Regions from separate parts of the Homo sapiens genome. Here region 2 is linked to region 1. The links are contacts of gene promoters, found by promoter capture Hi-C in blood cells and fetal thymus (Javierre and others, 2016). All regions are on one chromosome and are shown on one strand. Each heading gives the region's core, a stretch centred on a gene start or on the middle of the fragment in contact. The rest is flanking DNA. Distances are from core to core; before and after follow the strand shown. Region 1 holds the start of PTX4 (pentraxin 4). Region 2 overlaps CRAMP1 (cramped chromatin regulator 1).

Region 1 (6,026 bases), core at 1,659-4,158:
TCTTTCCCGATGGCAAGGTTTGCAACTTCCCCGGGAACCAGCGCCCGATCCCAGATAGCCAAGCCAGACATGCTCCCCACGAAGGCCTCGGAGCTGTCGAATCCGCCCCCCACGCTGTCTTGTTCCTGGCCCAGCACGAGGGACCCTCCGGGGGGGATCTCATAGCCCTCCCTGAAGCGGGAGCCGGTGGCCACCAGCCTGCGATCCACGTGGAGCCAGTACCTGCCCTGGGTGGACGTCCAGATGACACAGATGTGGTGCCACTGGCCGTCCAGCAGCAGCTGCAAGGGCAGCTCCCTGAAGGCCGGGTCCCCGATCACGAAGTGGATGGATCCGGGCAGCAGGGAGTCTCGGCCGTGCAGCACCAGCTTGTTGTCATTGTCCTCGGTGGCGTAGGACAGGAGGGTGCCCAGGCGGCCGGAGGCCGTGCGGACCCAGCTGCAGAAGGACAGGGCTCGCAGGGCAGTGACGAAACCAGGGCTGAGGAAGACCACGTTCCTGGTGGAGGCGTTTGGGAAAACGAGGGTGGGGCCCACGCCGCAAACTAGAAACAGAGGAGGGAGGGTCAACCCCTTGCAGGAGGCCGAGCAGAAGCATCCAGAAGCACACGTGCTGTGGGTGCCTGGCCTCCCACTCCCGGCTGCCACCCTTCACGGAGCACTGACTCTGCGCTGGCCCTGCCGATGGCTCCCCTGCAGCGTCTCCTTCACTCTCTTGATGGGATCACCCCAGTTCCACAGGCGGGAAGACTGAACATGAGGGCCGTACTCGGGAGTGGCGGGGTCCTGCTAGGAGCCCTAGCTGTCGGCCCACCCAGCTGAGCCAGCGCCCCTCACTGCCAGGGAGTCTCTGCAAATTTCATGACTCACAACAGCGCAGGTTTAGTGTTTCACATTTCTGGCGGTCACAAGGCCAACACGGTCTCCCAGGGCTCAAATCAGGTGTGGACAGGGCTGGTTCCTCTGGAGGCTCCAGGAGAAACCATCTCCCGCCCTTTCCAGCTTCCAGAGGCGCCTGCACCCTTCGGCGTGGGGCCTCCTCGTCTGTGCATCCCGCCACCTCTGCTTCTGCCCTCACGCCCTCCTCTGACTGTGTTCCTCCTGCCTCCCCTTAGAAAGCCTCTGTGATGACGGTGGGCCACCCCCCCCGATGATCCGAGACCCTCTCCCCATCTCCCGGCCCCTAACTGAACCTCTTTTGAGAAGCCTTTTCCAGGGGGCCTGGTCTAAGGAGGAGCTGGAGGGAAGCCTGGCCGTGAGCTGGGAGCCTGTGGTACTTACTCTCTCCTGGCACCTGGGGGGACCATGCCTGCTGCCGAGGGTCTTTTGGGGCAGTCCCACTGAGTACCCGATGGCTGCCTGAGGCTGGAGGCTCCCGCCTCCCTTGGAGAGGGGCCGAGGAGTCCTGTGGGGGGCCCCTGTGCTCAGAGGCAGCTCGGAGCTCCTGCCTGTCCCTCTGAAGCTTCAGGGAGGTCGGGCCCAGCTCCTCAGGCTGGGTTGGGGTTGGGACCAGGGCCGGCCCGAGGGCTGCAGTGCCAGGGTGGGCCACGGGCAGCCGCCCCTCCAGAGCAGCCAGCCTGGCGCCCTGGCTGTGGACGAGGCCCTCCAGGCGTGCCAGTGAGTCCTGCAGGGCGTCCCTCTGGGCCTTGTGTGCCTTCCTTTCCCGGGCCCGCTGCTGGCTCCTCTCGCCCAGGGTGAGGTCCAAGGCCCGCAGCCGCGTGTCTACTTTCCGGCCTCGGCGCTGCAGCTTCCTCACCCAGGCCTTGAGCTGCGCCAGCTCCCCCTGCACCGAGGCCTGTGACCGGTTGACTGCCTGAGCCACAGCCTGGCTCTCTTCCGCCAGGCTCCGGAACCGGACGTCAACGTTGTAGGACACGTTGTAGTTGCTGGCGATGTTCTGCAGGTGTGTCCAGGTCACCTCCTGGAATCTCCGGAACTGTAAGGAGGACACGGTGATGATGGGGCGGGCCGGGCCGGGCCGGCTGGGCGGGACGGGAAAGGCTTTGCCCTCTCAAGTTGGGAGCAGCGGCCGCGTGCCCGGGCCACGGCCAGCACTGGCTATCTGCCCACCGATTTGATCCCCACTGCGATGCCGTGAGATGTGGTGGGTGCCAGGGACTGACCCCAGGCCATGCAGCTGCACCACGTGGGGTGTGGACTCCAGGCCCACAGCTGGGGCTCTGATCCCCACCGCTCACCCCATAACCACCGGCAAGTCACTTTCCCTCGTGATTCCAGCTCCTGCCTGTGAGCAGGGGACGGCAGGGTGGCCTCATGAGTGCTTTACGAGGCCCAAACAGGAAGCACCCAGCGCAGGCCCGACAGGCCCACAGCACTCCGGAACTGTCCGTGGACCCCGCGTGGGAGTCCGGGAGGCCGTTCACACCGACTGCCACAAGGTGGACCTGTGACCTCCCAGTTTCCACTCCCCATGACACTACCCGGCCCCCATGGCCCCCAGTTCCCCTGACTCCCTTCCAGACCCCCTTCTAGCCTCTGGCCCCACCTGACCCCCACATGTTATGAGGCTTGTGTCCTGTGTGAGTGGAGCCCAGCTCAGCTCTTCCCTGGTGTCCAACTGCAGGTGAAATAATCTTCATGGATGGAAAGAGCGTCACACGCGGTGTTCGTGTCCGCCAAGCCCTGATGTTTACCAATCTGCTTCTGTAACATCCGTCTTCCATCTGCTGCCAATTTAAAAACCCGACTGCGCCATGTCAGGGGTATAACTTGCCTGTTCCTCCAGCCTACGGAGCCTCTCGAAAAACGGTTTCCTGGGCCCCACTGGGGCGGCTTCCTGCGATGAAGCCCCATGTAGATATATAGGCACAAAAACAAGGAAGAAAGACAAGGTCTTCCTCCACGAGCAACCCATCCGGAGAGACGGCAAGGCCCCAGCAGTCTCCCTCCAGCCGCAGGAGAGGGTGAAGGTGGCTCCGTGGGTCTGTCTTGTGTCTCGTCCCCCCAGCTCTCCTGTTGAGTGGTTTTCCTTCTTTGGCCCTGGCTGGATGTCAGGTTCTTCCTGCCGCCTCCATGAAAGGCATCTGCCTTCAAGCCAGTGGGCTCTGAGACTTGCAGGTTCCTAAGGAGACAAGCTTAAAACAGATGCAAACAGTTTCTTTGAAGAATCATTCAGCTGGGTGCAAGCCCGCGGGCAGGAGGCGATGGCTTTAACAGGAGCACATGGACTTGTGCTCCCGAGAAGTCGAAGCAAGACAGGGAACCCGACGGGGGCTGGGGAGTCAACAGAGCCAGGTCTGCACAGGCACCCATCACCCAGGCCGTGCACGGCTGCATCCTGGGAGGCCCCGTCTCTCTCAGTAAAGCAATGGAAATGTGACTGGGAGCCACCTTAATTAATTAATTATTATTATTATTTGAGATGGAGTCTCGTTCTGTTGCCTAGGCTAGAGTGCAATGGCGCAATCTCAGCTCACTGCAACCTCTGCCTCCCCGGCTCAAGCGATTCTCCTTCCTCAGCCTCCTGCCTCCTGAGGAGCTGGGATTACAGGCGTGCTTTACCATGCCCGGCTAATTTTAGTATTTTTAGTAGAGATGGGGTTTCACTATGTTGGTCAGGCTGGTCTCAAACTTCTGACCTCATGATTTGCCTGCCTCAGCCTCCCTAAGTGTTCGGATTACAGGCATGAGCCACTGCGCCTGGCCAATTAATTAATTTTTTTGACGGAGTCTTGCTCTGTCACCCAGGCTGGAGTGCAGTGGTGCGATCTCCGCTCACCACAAGCTCCGCCTCCTGGGTTTAACGGATTCTCCTGTCTCAGCCTCCCAAGTAGCTGGGATTACAGGTATGTGCCCCCACATCCGGCTAATTTTTGTATTTTTAGTAGAGACGGGGTTTCACCATGTGGGCCAGGCTGGTCTCAAACTCCCGACCTCAGGTGATCCACCCGCTGTAGCCTCCCGAAATGCTGGGATTACAGGCATGAGCCACCGCGCCCGGCCAATTTTTGTATTTGTAGTAGAGACGGGGTTGCCCCATGTGGGCCAGGCTGGTATTTTTGGTTACAGGTTGTGTACTGGCTTGAATGAGACCCTCCTAAAAACACACATAAGCCCCAGGCAGGGCCTTATGTGGAAAAGGTCTCTGCGGATGTCATGAAGGATTTTGAGATGAGACCATCCTGGATTATCCAGGTGGCCCTAAAGCCAATGACAGGGGTACAAGAGACAGAGGAGGAGGCACAGAGGACACGGCCTGTGAAGATGGGGCAGAGACTGGGGTGACGCTGCCACGAGGAACCCCCAGAGGCCCCAGAAGCTGGAAGAGGTAAAGTGGGAACCCCCAGCCCAGAGCCTTCGAGGGAGTGTGCACCTTCACTTCAAGACTTCCAGCCCCCAGAACTGTGATAGGACTCATTTCTGTTGTTTCAAGCCGCCCAGCTCATGGGAATAAGATCATCCACAAAGTTGTCCCACTGGGGGCATCCATCATTCCCAAGGTGGCATGAGCCAAGAGGGTGCCAGGCCAGGAAACCATCGGTGGCCCCCAGGCTCCCCTTGTCAAGCGTCAGAACACCATGGACATGGAGAAGATGCAGAAAGCATCGGAGAGAACATCCTGGGCACATGGACGGGGTTGGGGCCTTAGGCCCCGGGGGACTGGCAGCCACCAGGACAGCGACGCTGGTGCCACACACAGAGCGGCGGATCTCGCAGCTTCCAACTGACAGTGAGTTCCATTTATTTATGTATTTATTTTATTTCGGTAGAGAAGGGTCTTGCTATGTTGCCAGGCTGTTCTCAAACACTCCTGGGCTCAAGCAATCCTCCCAGCTCAGCCTAGCCAAAGTGCTGGGTTTACTGGCGTGAGCCACTGAGCCTGCCTGATTTCCATTTAAAGTTGTGGGTCGGGGCAGGGTGTGGTGGCTCTCTCCTGTAATCCCAGCACTTTGTGAGGTCAAGGTGGGCAGATCACTTGAGTCCAGGAGATCGAGACCAGGCTGGGCAACATGGCAAAACCCCGTCTCTACTAAAATTACAAAAATCAGCCAGACGTGGTGGTGTGCACCTGCAGTCCCAGCTACTTGGAAGGCTAAGGCGGGAGGATCGCCTGAGCCGGGGAGAAGGAGGTTGCAGTGAGCTGAAATCGCGCCACTACACTCCAGCCTGGGTGACAGAGCAAAGAATAAAGACATTTTCAGACACACAAAGGCTTGAGAAATTTGTCCTCCAAGCACCCACTGTTGGATGCGGGGCTTCAGGAAAAGAAGGGAATAGGGAAGGACGGAGCTGCCGTGGGCACTGGCGAGGGCTGGAACCCAGCAGCGGACGGAGGAGGAGTTTCCGGGATGATGGGATGCTGCCTGCCCCATATCCCATCCATCAGCTCTGCCTGCAGAGACATGCCCTGAGTTCAGCTGCTTCTCTACACCCCCATTCCGCCCCAAGCTCATCCTCACAATGGCCACCTAGTCCCCTCGTCCGTGTCGCCCCCCTACCGTCTGCTCTCCTAACTGCACCAGCATGGACCCGTGCCTTCAATGGCTCCAGGAGATGCCTGCCACACAAGCAAAATCTTAGTCCCTGCGAGGGCCTTCTGTGGCCTGGCCCACTGCCTCACTCCCTCCAGGCCTCACCCCTGCATATGCCTCCCTCGGCTCCACCTCCCGGGCAACAGTTGCGGCCTCAGGCCTTTGCACCTGCCGTTTTCCTGCCAGTGAGACTCTTCCCTGGCTGTCAACACATTCAGGGCTCTGCTCTAAGGTGTTCTGTTCAGAGCTCTCACCTTACGTAAGACAGCACCCACTGCTCTCTGGCTCTTTTCTTTTTTTTTTTTTTTGGAGGAGTCTCGCTCTGTCACCCAGGCTGGAGTTCAATGGCACAATCTCCACTCATTGCAACCTCTGCCTCCTGGGTTCAAGCAATTCTCCTGCCTCAGCCTCCCAAGTAGCTGGGATCACAGACACATGCCACCACGCCCAACTAATTTTTGTATTACTATTATTATTATTATTATTCTTTTTTTAGGAGAGACGGGGTTTCACCATGTTGGCCAGGCTGGTCTCG
Region 2 (6,026 bases), core at 2,091-4,590, 180 kb after region 1:
CGCTGGACTCCAGCTCTGCCTTTGGAGGAGAGTCTCTGGACCAGGGGTGCCATGGCATAAGCAAACTCTGTGTAGTACAGAGCAGGAGAGGCCTCCGGAGCCACTGACGAAAGGTGGGGACAGGCTTGCCATGTGGCACTGGAGAACTCAGAGCTAAGACGGTGTGGAAACATAGCTCCATCTGAGAGTGACCATAACCAAGGTGGCAGCCCACAGCGCTGTGCTCGGACACCACTGAGCATCTCTTTCATCTGGGAAGAGAGCAGCCTGTATGGCCTTGGCCATTGCTCCTTTCCAAGGCTCTGAGCACCTGGTTTCTCTGGCCTCCCACGGCCACTTCAGAGCTGCCCCAAGGAGGGTGGGGTGGGCTGATGCTGTTAAGACTCCAGGGAGCCCAGCCCTGCCTGCCACAAGGTTGACTTCCTGATAGGACTTTACTTCACTCTTGGAAGCAACAAAAAATTGGAAGTACACGGTCCACACCTGAAAGTAGCCTTTCAGTGTTCTCGACCTTAGACCCCTGTCCATTTACTGTCCCTCTGCTGTTAGGAGGCCAGGGGGATGGAACGCCTCTTTTTCTGGAACTCTGTCGCGGGTGAGGGTATGGGTGGCATCTGGTGCACCCTGCGGCTGCTCATGGGCGTGCTCTTCCTGCAGGGCTCCGACCCATTTGTCAGCATCCCTTCGAGGCCTGAGCAGGAGCCAGTGGCAGACAGTTTCCAGGTAGAGTGTGCTCTTGGGCTGCTGAGCAAAGCAGCTGCCCCAGGACTCCCTCCAGTGCCCTGAGCTGCCACCTGCAGTCTTGGAGTGGCCCGGCTTCTCTCCTAGACTGTGCAGTGGCTTTGCTGTTCTTCCACCTGCTGTGCCGACTGCCCAGGGTGGATAAATGAATATGGCTGTCCGCCACCTCAGACTTCCCTCCTCCCCTCTCCAAGGTGGGCTGTTTCAGACCCAGCTCTGGAAGAACTTAGCGCTCTGGAAGAACTCAGCTTTCTGGGAGGAGGAGGCTGTCAGCTAGTAACTCCCCCAGCCCCCACTCTCTTTCTGGCAGCAGTCAAAGCAGGTCCAGGCCACTGCAGCCTGACTTTCTGACTCTGCCATAGTGAGTGTTTTTGGGAGAAATAAATTCCCCGAGTGTGTTCCTGAGTTGGAAGGATGAGGTGACTGCAGCGCTCATCACCCTATTGATTTGCCTGCAAGCTAGGAGAGTAAGCTGGTGTTTCTTCCCTTGTCATGGGTTCTGATAGACCTGGTTGTGTCTGAAAAATACCTGTCTCCCAGCAGGGCTCATCTGTTCTCTCCTTATCTGAGCTGCCCAAGGCCCCTCTCCAGAATGGCCTCTCCATACCGCTGTCCTCGTCAGAGAGCTCCAGCACCCGGCTGTCTCCACCAGACGTCTCTGCTCTGCTCGACATCTCCCTGCCCGGCCCACCTGAGGATGCGCTGTCACAGGGCGAGCCTGCCACACACATTAGCGACTCCATCATTGAGATCGCCATCAGCTCCGGTCAGTACGGTAAGGGCAGGGCGGCCTCACAGCCCTTCCTGTCATCAGGTGTTGATCTCCTGCCCCAATGTTTGCCACACTTCCTGGGGATATTCCAGTTTTGTGATTTTTACGAATTGAAAACCTGTCACCTACAAGGTGCTGCCTGTCTCCAGCAGGGACCTTGCAGGTGGATAAGGTACCTGTGGGACCTGAGGCAGCTGATGGCCTGGTAGGCTTGCTCCTGACCTTCAGGCGAGACAGTGGAATGGCCCCCAGGTGCTCTTCAGCCTGGGGATCACAGAGTGTTTTCCTAGTTGATCTTGAACCTGAGCAGGCGGCCTGGGGTCTTGCACAGCTTGTGAAGCAGTTGGGCTGGGCCCTGTGGGCTTTGGTCTCACCTGCTGTCTGGGACAAAGCTCCTGGGGGCAGTGGTTTGTTGTTCACTGGCGCGACCCAGGCTGTGGGCTGAGAGAGATATGAGTTCACAGTGTGCTAGCATGTAGCCTTGGGCAGCTCACCACCTTGCTGAGCCTCCCTTTCCTAAGCGGTAAATTGAGAATAAGGTACAGCTCCTAGGGCTGCTGTGGGTGCCGTGAGATGACTCATGTGCAACCCGTGGTGGCTACTGCCGTCGCCTTCACTCCGCTGCGCCCTGCCTCCCTGCAGAGCTGTTCTGCGGTGCTGCGCTCCTTACCTGCCGAGCCATGCCATCCATCTGGTTCAGCAGGGTAGAGCCCTGCGGCCCTGCTGCCTTCTCCGTGGTGGGCTGGAGAAGTGAGTTGCTGTTCACCACCCCGCAACAAGGCGTTTCTGATCTGGGATCTTGGTTGGCAGGTGAAGGAGTCCCTCTTTCTCCAGCAAAACTGAATGGCAGTGACAGTTCCAAGAGCCTTCCCTCCCCGTCCAGCAGCCCCCAGCCACACTGGATCGCCTCTCCCACCCACGACCCCCAGTGGTACCCCAGTGACTCCACCGACTCCTCGCTCAGCAGCCTGTTTGGTGAGTGTATGGGGAGGGCTCCCATCTCCTTTTCCAGGGCAGCAGGGGCTGGGGTCTGCGGGACACTGGATTCTCATTCTACTCAAACTCCCACTAGGACTGTTGGCTTGTTCGCTTCTCAAGTGTTTGTATTTTTCTGAGTTAATATTTTTGGGTGTAATTTACATGTAGGAAAATGTACACATTTTTAGTGTACAGTTCACCAAGCTTTGGCAAGCATGTATAGCCTGGTAACCCACAAGCCAATGGAGACCTAGAACATTCCCGTGACCCCAGATGCTGGGTTCTGTGTGCCTTCCCAGTCTGTTCAGCTAGCCCGGCCCCTCCCGACTGGGTTCTCTTGAGGGGAGAAAAGGAAACTGGTGTCTTGGCACTCTCTTGGCTCTTCTCTTTCTGTGGTCAGTAAGGTATTCAGAAGTGGATGGTCCAGCTGCCACCTGGCACATTCTTGAATATAGATCGGAGAGTTCAGAGGACGTGTCCATCCTCCTCCCCCACTGCCCGTTTGCCCACTGGGTAGCAAGTGTGGCAGGAAGGGGGTGTATCAGGGAAAGGCACACCCTGCTGCTGTTGCCTGCCCAGAGAGAGCTCCCATTTGGATGTCTGGGGTCTTCCCGCCCACAGTTGTACGGGGCCAGGGCTTGTGGCTGGGCACATCAGGCATGGCGGGTACCATGCCTGACAGCTCTGAACCAGTTGGGCGACCTGGGTCTGGGAGGTGCTGAGGGACCCAGCACCCTGCAGGCGTTTCCTTTTGTCTCATGTAGCAGTGCAGATGTTTGGAAAGTCACACGTAAATCTTGAAAAACTGGAAACAGGCCAGGCGTGGTGGCTCATGTCTGTAATCCCAGCACTTTGGGAGGCCAAGGTAGGAGGACTGCTTGAGGCCAGGAGTTTGAGACCAGCCTTGGCAGCATAGAGAGACCTTGTCTCTACAGAAAATTTTAAAACTAGCCAGGTGTGGGGGGTGCATGCCTGTAGTCCCAGCAACTCGGGAGGCTGAGGTGGGAGGATTGCTTGAGCCTAGGAATTCGAGGCTGCAGTGAGCCATGATCACCACTGCACTGCAGCCTGGGCAAGAGCGAGACCCTGCCTTTAAAAAAAATTAAAAGCAAAGTTGGAAACAACCTGCATGAGACTAGTCACAGAGAAGAAAGTATGGGGGTGGGGATGGCAGTGAGGGTGGGAGAGCATGATGGGGGTGGGGGATGGCAGCGAGGGTGGGAGACCGTGATGGGGGTGGGGGATGGCAGTGAGGGTGGGAGACCGTGGGACTCGTGGAAAACAAGGTGCATGTCTGTATGCACGAAGGCCTGTTAAACGAGAAGAGCTCGTCACGGCGTGTTGAGTCCCTCGGAAGCTCTTCGCACAAGTCTGGATTGGGGCCGGGGCCGGGGCTAGGGCTTGGGCTGGCTGCCCCCAGCCTCAGGACCCTTCCGCTGGACTGGTCCAGACCAAGCAGGGTTCAGGGTGTTTTCCTCTGGCCTTTTCTCCGCAGCAAGCTTCATCTCCCCAGAGAAGAGCCGGAAGATGTTGCCGACTCCCATTGGGACCAACAGTGGCACTTCCTTGCTTGGCCCCAGCTTGTTGGATGGAAACTCGCGGGACTCATTTGTGTCCAGGTCCCTGGCTGACGTTGCAGAGGTGAGTGCATTGACCTCACAGCTGCACCTGACCACCAACCCTCGTGCCAGAGGTTGCCAGCACTCTCCTGCACACCTGTGGGTTAGTAAGAGCTGTTTGCCAAGAGTAGAAGAACAGGAGACAGCACGTCCACACTCAGGTCCCTGACTACTGAGAATGGAGAGATCTGGGGACGCTGGGCCGGCTCTCGTCCCCACATGCAGAATGACAGACTTAGTCATAGCTGAGCTCTGCAGGCCTCTGAACTGGAAACCCTGGTCTGGGGCGCAGAGCAGGGTCTCTGAAGGCAGCCAGAGCCGAGTGGGGATGTTACCTCTCCTTCCCTGGCTGTGAGGTGCTGAGGTGCGGGGAGTGTTGTGGAGGGAGGAGTAAGGGGTGGTGGCAGCAGTTGTGTTGTCAGTGCTCCCATCCTAACAGCAGGACCTTTGAGTGGCATCTCCCTGTCATGTTGAGCTGCGGTGCAGGGGAACTGGGATGGGCTCTGCTGTCCTCATGCTTCTCCCACGCCCAGGGTAGTGATAGGAGGAGTCACTGGGGCAGGTTCTTGAGGGGAAGGCGAAACGTGGTTTGTGACTCTCCACTTTTGACGAGATGCAGCGTCCCTCTTTGTTGGCCAGGCCATCTGGTTGTAGCCCTCAAGGCGTCCACCACATGGTTTGTGTGGCATTCGTGGGCAGGTCAGGCTTGCAGGGTGAAGACAGGCCCGTTTCACTGTGACGTAAAGTGCAGAGTGGCAGGTGTGTGGGCAGTCGGGTGAGGGCTCTATGGACAGGGAGGGAACTCCAGGTCCAGGAGATCATCCGCATGGGCTTAGCCCATGTGAAAGTCCTGGAGCAGCATTCCCCGAATCTAGTCCCCACAATGTTGAGACATTGGCAGGTGTTCCTTGAGGATTTTGTGGGTAGATACTTGAGGGACACCCTGGATCCAAAAAAGCTCAAAACAGCTGTTTCTCACGGACACCTCCGCTACCCAGTATCCGAATGTGAATCGTGACTCTTGAGATGATGAACTCATGGGCAGGCTTTGGAGAATTCCAAGCCAAGCCATGATATGACTGGAAATTTTAGCCAAATATACACATAGACACAATTAATAGCGTAGACCTCCATCTCACAGTGTGTGGCGTTTCTCAAACCTGTTTGGCCCCAGAATCATTATTCAGGGCACACCTTGGACTCTGATGTTTCCCGAGAAGCCAGTCTCTGTCTCTTCCCCTGTTTGTGCGCATGTTCCTAAGTGCTGGGCTCTGTGGAGATGGGCGCTGCGTACGTGCCCTGAGGCAGCATGCTCACGCCATGCTGTTGAAAGGACGGGCCACAGCCCAGTGACAGGAGCCCCTTGGAGTCAGAAATCCAGAGTGTTAGCCTCACCCCAATCAGAATTTGCACCTTTAATAAAATCCTGGGCAACAGATGGCACTTGGGAGTGAGTAGCAGAGAAAGGGTGCAGTTAGTATTTGTGAAACGCTGCCCGTCGCGAGTAATGCAAACGTGTTCACCTTCAGAAAGAGCAGATCAGCGTTTAGCATGAGATTTTCCCGAGAGCCCTCCACTCAGAACGTGAGTATGTTTCTCAGCAGGTCCTCGTCATCTGGAAGGATGGGCTGAGGCATTTGTGGATGAAAGGGTCTGGTGGTAGGGCTAGCATGAAGGGGGCGGGGGTGGAGCTGGGTGGCCCTGGGATGAAACGGGTGGGAGCTGCTGATGGACATACAGGGGAAGGAGAATTACTCTTTGCTCTGCTTTTGAAAACAAATTTTAATTTGTCTGACATTTCCCATAATCAAAGCATAAAATTTCATTTACGCCATAGCTCTATTCAGAATTTTCCAGACTTCTTGCATTCACAGTGTCATGCAGTTCATTAAGGGATATTTCTGCAGGGTCTGCTG

Evidence for each region. The method cuts DNA at HindIII sites, captures the fragments that hold promoters and counts their contacts. A CHiCAGO score of 5 or more calls a contact.
Region 2: a fragment that was not itself captured here is called in contact with the fragment with the promoter of PTX4 in region 1 in 1 of 17 cell types (endothelial precursors); the score reaches 5.4 in endothelial precursors.

Annotation. Positions count from the first base shown.
Region 1 is chr16:1,486,036-1,492,061 of GRCh38, forward strand. PTX4 (pentraxin 4) reads right to left here and starts at 2,909. Exons shown (of 3, transcript NM_001328608.2): 1 at 2,734-2,909; 2 at 1,281-1,935; 3 at 1-544. The coding sequence starts at 2,874. The HindIII fragment of the contact is 1,633 bases long and covers 1,460-3,092 here.
Region 2 is chr16:1,666,678-1,672,703 of GRCh38, forward strand. CRAMP1 (cramped chromatin regulator 1) reads left to right here. Exons shown (of 21, transcript NM_020825.4): 17 at 658-723; 18 at 1,285-1,516; 19 at 2,324-2,488; 20 at 3,987-4,132. Among named protein-coding and RNA genes, the nearest start is that of JPT2, 8.6 kb to the right of the region's middle. The HindIII fragment of the contact is 1,295 bases long and covers 2,694-3,988 here.